Regions from separate parts of the Homo sapiens genome. Here region 2 is linked to region 1. Evidence: promoter capture Hi-C in 16 types of primary human blood cells and fetal thymus (Javierre and others, 2016). All regions are on one chromosome and are shown on one strand. The core of a region is centred on a gene start or on the middle of the fragment in contact, and the rest is flanking DNA. Distances in the headings are between cores, read along the strand shown. Region 1 holds the start of STK39 (serine/threonine kinase 39). Region 2 overlaps CERS6 (ceramide synthase 6).

The links. Contacts are between HindIII fragments. The CHiCAGO score rates a contact against its expected background, and 5 or more counts as called.
Region 2: a fragment that was not itself captured here is called in contact with the fragment with the promoter of STK39 in region 1 in 2 of 17 cell types (non-activated CD4 T cells and activated CD4 T cells); the score reaches 5.4 in non-activated CD4 T cells.

Annotation. Positions count from the first base shown.
Region 1 is chr2:168,245,587-168,249,103 of GRCh38, reverse strand. It overlaps STK39 (serine/threonine kinase 39), which reads left to right and starts at 1,509. Exons shown (of 18, transcript NM_013233.3): 1 at 1,509-1,876. The coding sequence starts at 1,669. It overlaps LOC107985959 (a long non-coding RNA gene), which reads right to left and starts at 1,143. Exons shown (of 5, transcript XR_007087282.1): 1 at 1,036-1,143. RefSeq lists silencers at 1,304-1,553, 1,764-1,813, 2,174-2,223, 2,314-2,403, 2,424-2,623. The HindIII fragment of the contact is 2,511 bases long and covers 693-3,203 here.
Region 2 is chr2:168,716,503-168,720,026 of GRCh38, reverse strand. It overlaps CERS6 (ceramide synthase 6), which reads right to left. Exons shown (of 10, transcript NM_203463.3): 8 at 2,049-2,155. Among named protein-coding and RNA genes, the nearest start is that of CERS6-AS1, 68 kb to the left of the region's middle. The HindIII fragment of the contact is 979 bases long and covers 1,024-2,002 here.

The sequences.
Region 1 (3,517 bases), core at 260-2,759:
AACAGTCCTTAAAAGTTCTTTGGGGTAGGGTGGAGGCAGCACTTGAAGAGGTCAGCAGCCATGGCTTGGTATAAAGAGCTCCCCTGTTCCTCAGAGGCCTAGAATTTGTTTATGAAGGGCTCTGTTTCTTGACAGACATGACAAGACACAGTTTTTGAAGTCCTCCGCATCAAAGAATGTACACTTAGTTCAGCATGAACTTCTGCTTCAAGACCAGAGCGAGGTAGCTGCTTTACTCCAACTTTTGTAATGCTCCAAGAGATTAAGTGCCCTCATCTTCAGTGGACATCAATGTTTTGATTAGACAACTAACTTTCCTAATAAATTTCTGGGCTTCTTCTGAATAATCTTTCAAAAATTTTAGTGAGATTTCTGTACATACACTCGGGAGACAAAATCATGATATCCCTAGAGTTTTTATTACATCCTCATTATTCTTACCTATTTCTTCAGCAGTCCTAGCAATGAGAACCAGACAAGATCATCTTGGCCAAACGACCAATACTATTGGTTTACTGCCCCGTTTCAGTTGGAGACAAGAACGGTGGATCCTGGTCACCTCCACGGAGGGAACACAGAGAACATTCACTGTTAAATATGACACCTATAATTAGGAAAACCTATGGTTTTACCATAGCAGTTTTACAGACGAGGTTATTTTTGGGGTGTTGAAAAAACAGCAATTAAAAGCTTCCAACACAGTTTATTCATGCCCCAATAAATTATTTCCCCACCAAGTATACGCTCTTAAAGAAACGCCTGATGTCTGGCCTCAGTGTCCTCACGGGCTAACGTGGCAATTATTAAGGGTGTAGAATTTGAGCAAACTTTCTAAACCTCTCCTGCATGTCTTATTCTAATTCCACAGCCCCTTAAATCGCCTCCCTGGGATCCAGGCGGCTTGGAAAAAATGAAGTCTGAACAGCCAGAGACCTAAGGAATCAAGTTTCATTTACTAAGAAAAACTAGAAGGACTGCGATTAGATTAGGCAAGGTGGGAAAGGGATACCGGCAAGTAAAGCGCCGGAAACTTACAACTTGGGTTATTTTCTAACTGGCGTCTTGCAAAGGGACACCATGTAGGTATCCCGCTCGTCAACTTGTAAATGAACTTCAGGTTCTCTTTGGTGGCAGGAGAATTCTGAATGTGAGAACCTGGCGGCCGTTCAACGACCCCGCCCTCGGGGTCCCCAGGGGGCGTCCTCCGGCAAGCCTGATCGTCTGGGGCCAAGGCGCAGGGCGAGCAGGGAGGGAGGAGGAGAACCAGGGCCGGTGGCCCCGAAAGCACACACAAAGCGGCCTGACTCCTTTGGTGGGAACTTCCCCGGCCGCCAGCGGAGCGGGAGCGGGAGGGGGCGGCGGAGAGGGGGGGCGGCGGTTCCCCTCGCCGAGGCGGAGAACAGCGCGCGCTAGGCTCTGGGCGCGCGGCGAGCGCAGCGGCCGCCGCCTCCTCCCTTCCCCGCCTCCGCCGGCGCTGCCTCCTCCCTCCGCCCAGCTCGGCCTCCCTTGCTCCCTCCCCTCCTAGCTGGCTTCGGCGGGGACGGCGGCGGCGGCGGCGGGCGGGGAGGGCGTGCGCCGGCCGAGAGGTGTCGGCGGCGAGGCAAAGGAAGTTTCAAGTGGAAGGTCGTCCGTCGGCCGGCGCGTCCTCCTGCTCTCCTCCGCAGCATCATGGCGGAGCCGAGCGGCTCGCCCGTGCACGTCCAGCTTCCCCAGCAGGCGGCCCCGGTGACAGCGGCGGCGGCGGCGGCCCCGGCGGCCGCGACAGCAGCGCCGGCCCCGGCAGCTCCCGCGGCCCCGGCCCCGGCCCCGGCCCCGGCGGCACAGGCTGTCGGCTGGCCCATCTGCAGGGACGCGTACGAGCTGCAGGAGGTTATCGGTCAGTGCGGCGGGCGCGGCGGGGCCGGCACAGGCCGGGCGCCGAGGCCGGGCGGGAGGGGGCGCGGGATGCTGGGCTAGCCTGCATGCACGCCCTGGAGGCAGAGAGGCCGGCTTCGGGGCCTACTGGCTTCAACAGTTTTTTTTTTTTTTTTTTTTTTTTTTTTAATTTTTAATGTATTTGTTCGTTCTATGAGCGTTGGTGCTGCAGGAGGCGGCGCGGCGGATGTGACTCGCACTGCAGACGAGCCGCATGCTGCAAACTTTTATCTCAGGGATCGCCGGGGCGGTGGAGCGGAGGACCAGGCGGCGCCGCCGCATCTTCCTCCCCCCGCGTGCCGGGACCGCAGCCCGTGGCCGGTGGCCACGCGGACAGGCAGCCGCGGGTGGGGTGTGGTTGCGGGGGCCCCGCCCTGGGTTTCCAGGGCCCCGGGGGCCGCGTCCTGGGGGACTCTGCGGGCGCAGCCGCTCCTCTGCCTCCCGTCGTGACCCTCTCGTCGTGGGTAACGGGGCCACGTAGAAGCCGCGGAGGCCCCAGTGCTTTTCTGAGGCCGGGGAGGATGCTGGCCTCTCTTCCTGACAGCCGCCACTCCACGCCCGCCTTGCAGCCCGGCTCTCCGCGCCACTCGGCGCGCCCGGGTACCCGCCTCCCTCCGTGCCAGGGTGCGCCGCCTGCCGCCCAGTCCGGCTCCCCGGGGAAAGCGGGTGCCCTGGCCTCCTGCCCTGCACCGGGCCGATGCTTCCCTCTGTTTCAGGCCGAGCTGCAAGAGTGAAATCCGAGGCTGCCGGTGATCTGCTCTCTGCCTTTCGTTGCCTTCTGGCCGGCTCACAAATATCACCTTATCTTACATTTTTAAATACCTGGCAGAGTCGCAGGGCTCGGCGTTACTTTTCCTTGGGCCAAGCACTTGAAGGGCCAGGAGATTTGTTTTGTCCCTTGACTTAGAACCTTCCCTATTGGATCATCCAGTTTGAGAGTCTTGTCACTTAGGGAAGCCTCCAGGTTAAGTGGGCCCTCAGCGTCTAACCTTACTGACGCAGGGATGGGATGTTGCCTTTCCAGAATCTTGGTATATAAGTACAGCGATGAAAAAGGAGTTCAGAATATTTATCTTAAGTATTTTTTCTAACTTTCACTTCAAAAAATTCTTCACCTCCTTTTAAAAAAATTAAAACAGATATAAAAATTTCACTAGGTGTTTAAATGAGCCTTTATCACCTGCTATTGGGGAATAAAACAGCATAGACGGAAATATATATATAAATATATACATAAAAATATGTGAGAAAATGTTGGGCAGGTCCGTAACCTAGGATATATACAAGCTTCAGATAACCTATAATAGGCATCTGTAGACAAAATTCTTTGAAAACCCAGATCTTTCATAATTTTTGACCAAAGACTCTAAAGGGATGAGTCTTCATGTCACTGCCTGAAATAGCTTCAGGGGCTTCTCAAAGCCTGGAATATTCCATGGAAACCTCTTTAACCTGGCATATAGGCCCTGTACCCTCAACCTGCCTGCCTCCTCCCATTGTCTACTCTTCAGTGATTGCTTCCTGAATACACCGCTGTCTTCCGCACATCTGGTCTTCCATTCTTTGCTGCCTTGCAGAGGCTCTTCCCTCCTGTGAGTGCCCA
Region 2 (3,524 bases), core at 264-2,763, 470 kb before region 1:
GAGGCAGAGACTGCAGTGATCCAAGATCACACCACTGCACTCCAGCCTGGGCGACAGGGAAAGACTCTGTCTTAAAAAAAAAAAAATACTATTTTGAATATACTGAGTTAAATATGTTATTTAAATGGATATCACCTTTCATCTTTTAAAAAAAAAAGAACCTTTAGTATGGCTACTAGAAAATATTGTATTACTATAAAGCCTGCATTATATTTCTTTTGGACAGGGTTGTTCTAGAAGGATGTATTGTGACTGGAAGAGAAGTCTGGAGGAGCAGTGCATGGTTCTTAAAAGGCTAATCATGGTGTATGCTGTCTTTGAGGACCATGGATTGCTGATATAACAGAGAATAAGCCAAGTGTTACTAAACCCATCAATTACCAATATTCTGATGACTCATGATGAATTCAAATATAGTCAAGAGGAACCTGGAAGGTATTGTTGGTGAATCCAAAGAAATGGGTTGAAAACAAAAGGAATATAAGGCAGGGGAAATAATTTTGTTTCTTCTACCTAAAGCACAGTCTTTGAAGGGGAAATAGGTCTATGAAATGCTTCTTAAAACTAAAGTCTGATCTACCTCCATTACACCTTACCCTCTACAGGTGAGTCACTATTTCACACACACAAATATATCTGCTATAATGTATAATTTAGCCAACAGAGCTCCTCAGTAAATGCAACAAAACTATTTAAATATTGATAATCCATCTATATTACCTATGTCCAGTAAATGTTTGGAAAAAAAATTTATAACCTCTGGCCTCCCCCACCCCATACCCCAAATTATAAACTGGAATATTAAAAGGACCTGTAGGAATTCAACTGTAAATGCCCCAAGGGCAGCCCTATGTCTAACTGAATTATCAGCATTACCAGTACCATCTCAGTGCTGGTAATGCAGCAAATGACCAGTAAATTTTCACTAAATACACACAAAAAATGGCAGCTCATTGGAATTTTAAAGTCCACACCTAAACAATATGGAAAAGGCAAAGAATGGATATTCTAGACTGGTAAGCTTACTGTTGTAGATGGCTAATCACACAGATGGGGGCAAGTACTTAGAATGAAGACCCAGGAGTCAGCAAAGGTTTTCTAAAATCTGACTTCACATTCTTTTTCTGACTCTGCCTCTACCTGTGCAGGGAGTGACTCAACAGAGTAAATCCTGAATTCCTTAAGACCTCTGACAAAGCTCTTTTATATACCTGAAACAAGGTGGGGAAATAGCAGGCATGACGATCTAACAGTTAGAAGGCTTAGTAATGAGTAGAAAAATCATACAGGAAGATTGGTGTTTGGGGGACTGAGGTCAACCTAAAGAAATTCTTCAGGGGTGGAGCAGGAATCCCTCTTGGTCAACGTTTTTCTTCAGTAAGTTGGAAGAAATATGAAAAGCATCTATTTGCCAAGTAACACAAAGCTGGAAGAGACTTTGGATATAATTCAAAGACTCTATTTGGTTAGAAAGGTATACAGCTAATGAAAAGAATTATCTAGGATAGTGGTTTTCAAACTTTAACATGCAGCAGAATCATCAGGAAGGCTTATTAAAACACATTGCCAGGACTTATATCCAGAGTTTCTCACTCAGTGGGCCTGGGGTGGGGCCAAGAATGTGCATTTCTAACAGGTTCTTAGGTGATGCTGCTACTGCTAATCCAGGGACAACCCTCTGTGAACCCCTGGTACAGGAGATTCCTGTCATATACTTGTTTGCAACACCACGGTTTCTTTCTTAATTCCAACCTTCACAGCTGAGGTTCTTGAGTCATATTCTAGACTAGTGCCTTCTATGACAGATGGCTTTCTGTGGCTTCAGAAGCCATGCAAGCCACATCCTTTTCCAACTATCCTGTGGAAATCATTAGTAAAGAGTGCAACCCTCTTCTGGAAGAAGAAATCAAGCAGCTTCTTGAGGTATTTCCCCTCCCCCCCAATATATTTAAACCTGTAAATACTTACAGTAAAATTCAAAAGGAAAATGGTTCAGAAAGCTTATTTGGAAAGGGTGGCTCTATCAGGAAGGAGACTGGCATACTCACCAGAGAGGAAATATACCCAGTCGTGTGGTGATAAAAACCACGGCAAACATAACAAACAGGAGATCACACATTTTCTGAAACTTGGCATAATTTGCCATTTTGGCAGCCTATGAAAGAAAGGAATGTGATATATTAATGTAGTTAAACTGATAATAAAAAGTTTCTTTCAATATGCATGAATCTCCTATAAGATATACCTTACCAGATGCATAAAATTGCCTGCATTTTTATGCATTTCAGCCTGCGATTGAAATGTCATACATCATGCACCAGTATTTATAAATTACCCGTAAGTTGAGTGAAAGGCAGCATTAGCCATAAGTAGAATTCCTGACTGTTACAGATTTAATAAAATATTCAGCAACCTGAGAAATTCATTTGTATGGTTGATTTCAGAAAAACAGAGAGAAAAATAAGAGATTCTTGCATCATAGATGATACTAGCAAGCCAGAGACACCAAAACAGAAATCTGGCCTAACAGTTCAAACAGAAGTGCTGGACAATCCTTTAAACCTTTTTATGAATCTCAAATACCGGGGCCACAAACTTTATATAGAATATATGGAGCTTTTCTGCGTTTTTCTTCCTTTCTCCTTAAAATTGTAGGTTTTCTTTAAACAGGCACAAGGAGTACTCTGGGGAGATGCTCTTCTGGCTTACTCTCATGAACTTAGAAATGAAGAAAGTGTCAAGATGATGTCATTTCAACTAATCCATTTAGGTAGAATTTTCAAAACTACATGAATGGGTCATTTTTAGATGAAAGCCACTAATGTTCAAGGGTCTGTGAAAAGTACTCTCATAATTTATGACAGTGATTTAAGTGAAGACTTTTTATATTATAAATTAGTCTAGGGAAGAAATCACATCCCTTTCTCTACCATCTACTTTTTTTACAGATGATTCTAAAAACAGGTGAGACTGAAAACAATTTTGCTTAATCATCTCTTTTTACATTTTTGCATAGAATTCACAGCACCTACACACAGGGTTATAAATTCATGATGCCTTCTGAATTTATAACATTATTTTCTACTTCTTGGAAACTTAAATTAACTGAGTCAGATTTGAAAAGATTGTTGACATTATCCACAGAGGCTATAATTTAAAAGCTTTAAATAAAGCACAAAGCTATGAGAGGAATGTATTCCTAAGGGGAAATATCTATTAACTGGGTGGAAGTTAGGATTATAAGCTTTTAATTTCATGAACACTTCAGGTGTAACACCATAAATTATGTTAAAAGGTACCTTCTACCTTCTCCTGGCTAGGTAAATCATGAAATTTTTCTTTTATATTTTTTCACCAGTATTCAGTAAATAAGCTTTAAACACAAACTTTTCAGAAACGTCTAGGCCATAAGATAACATGTTGAGGAGCTGACAGGTGACCTATCTCATTAATTGAATACTCTACGTGTTATTTACTTTATAATGTTTAAGAGAATCTAGGTGATGAAGAACATTTGTTTTTAA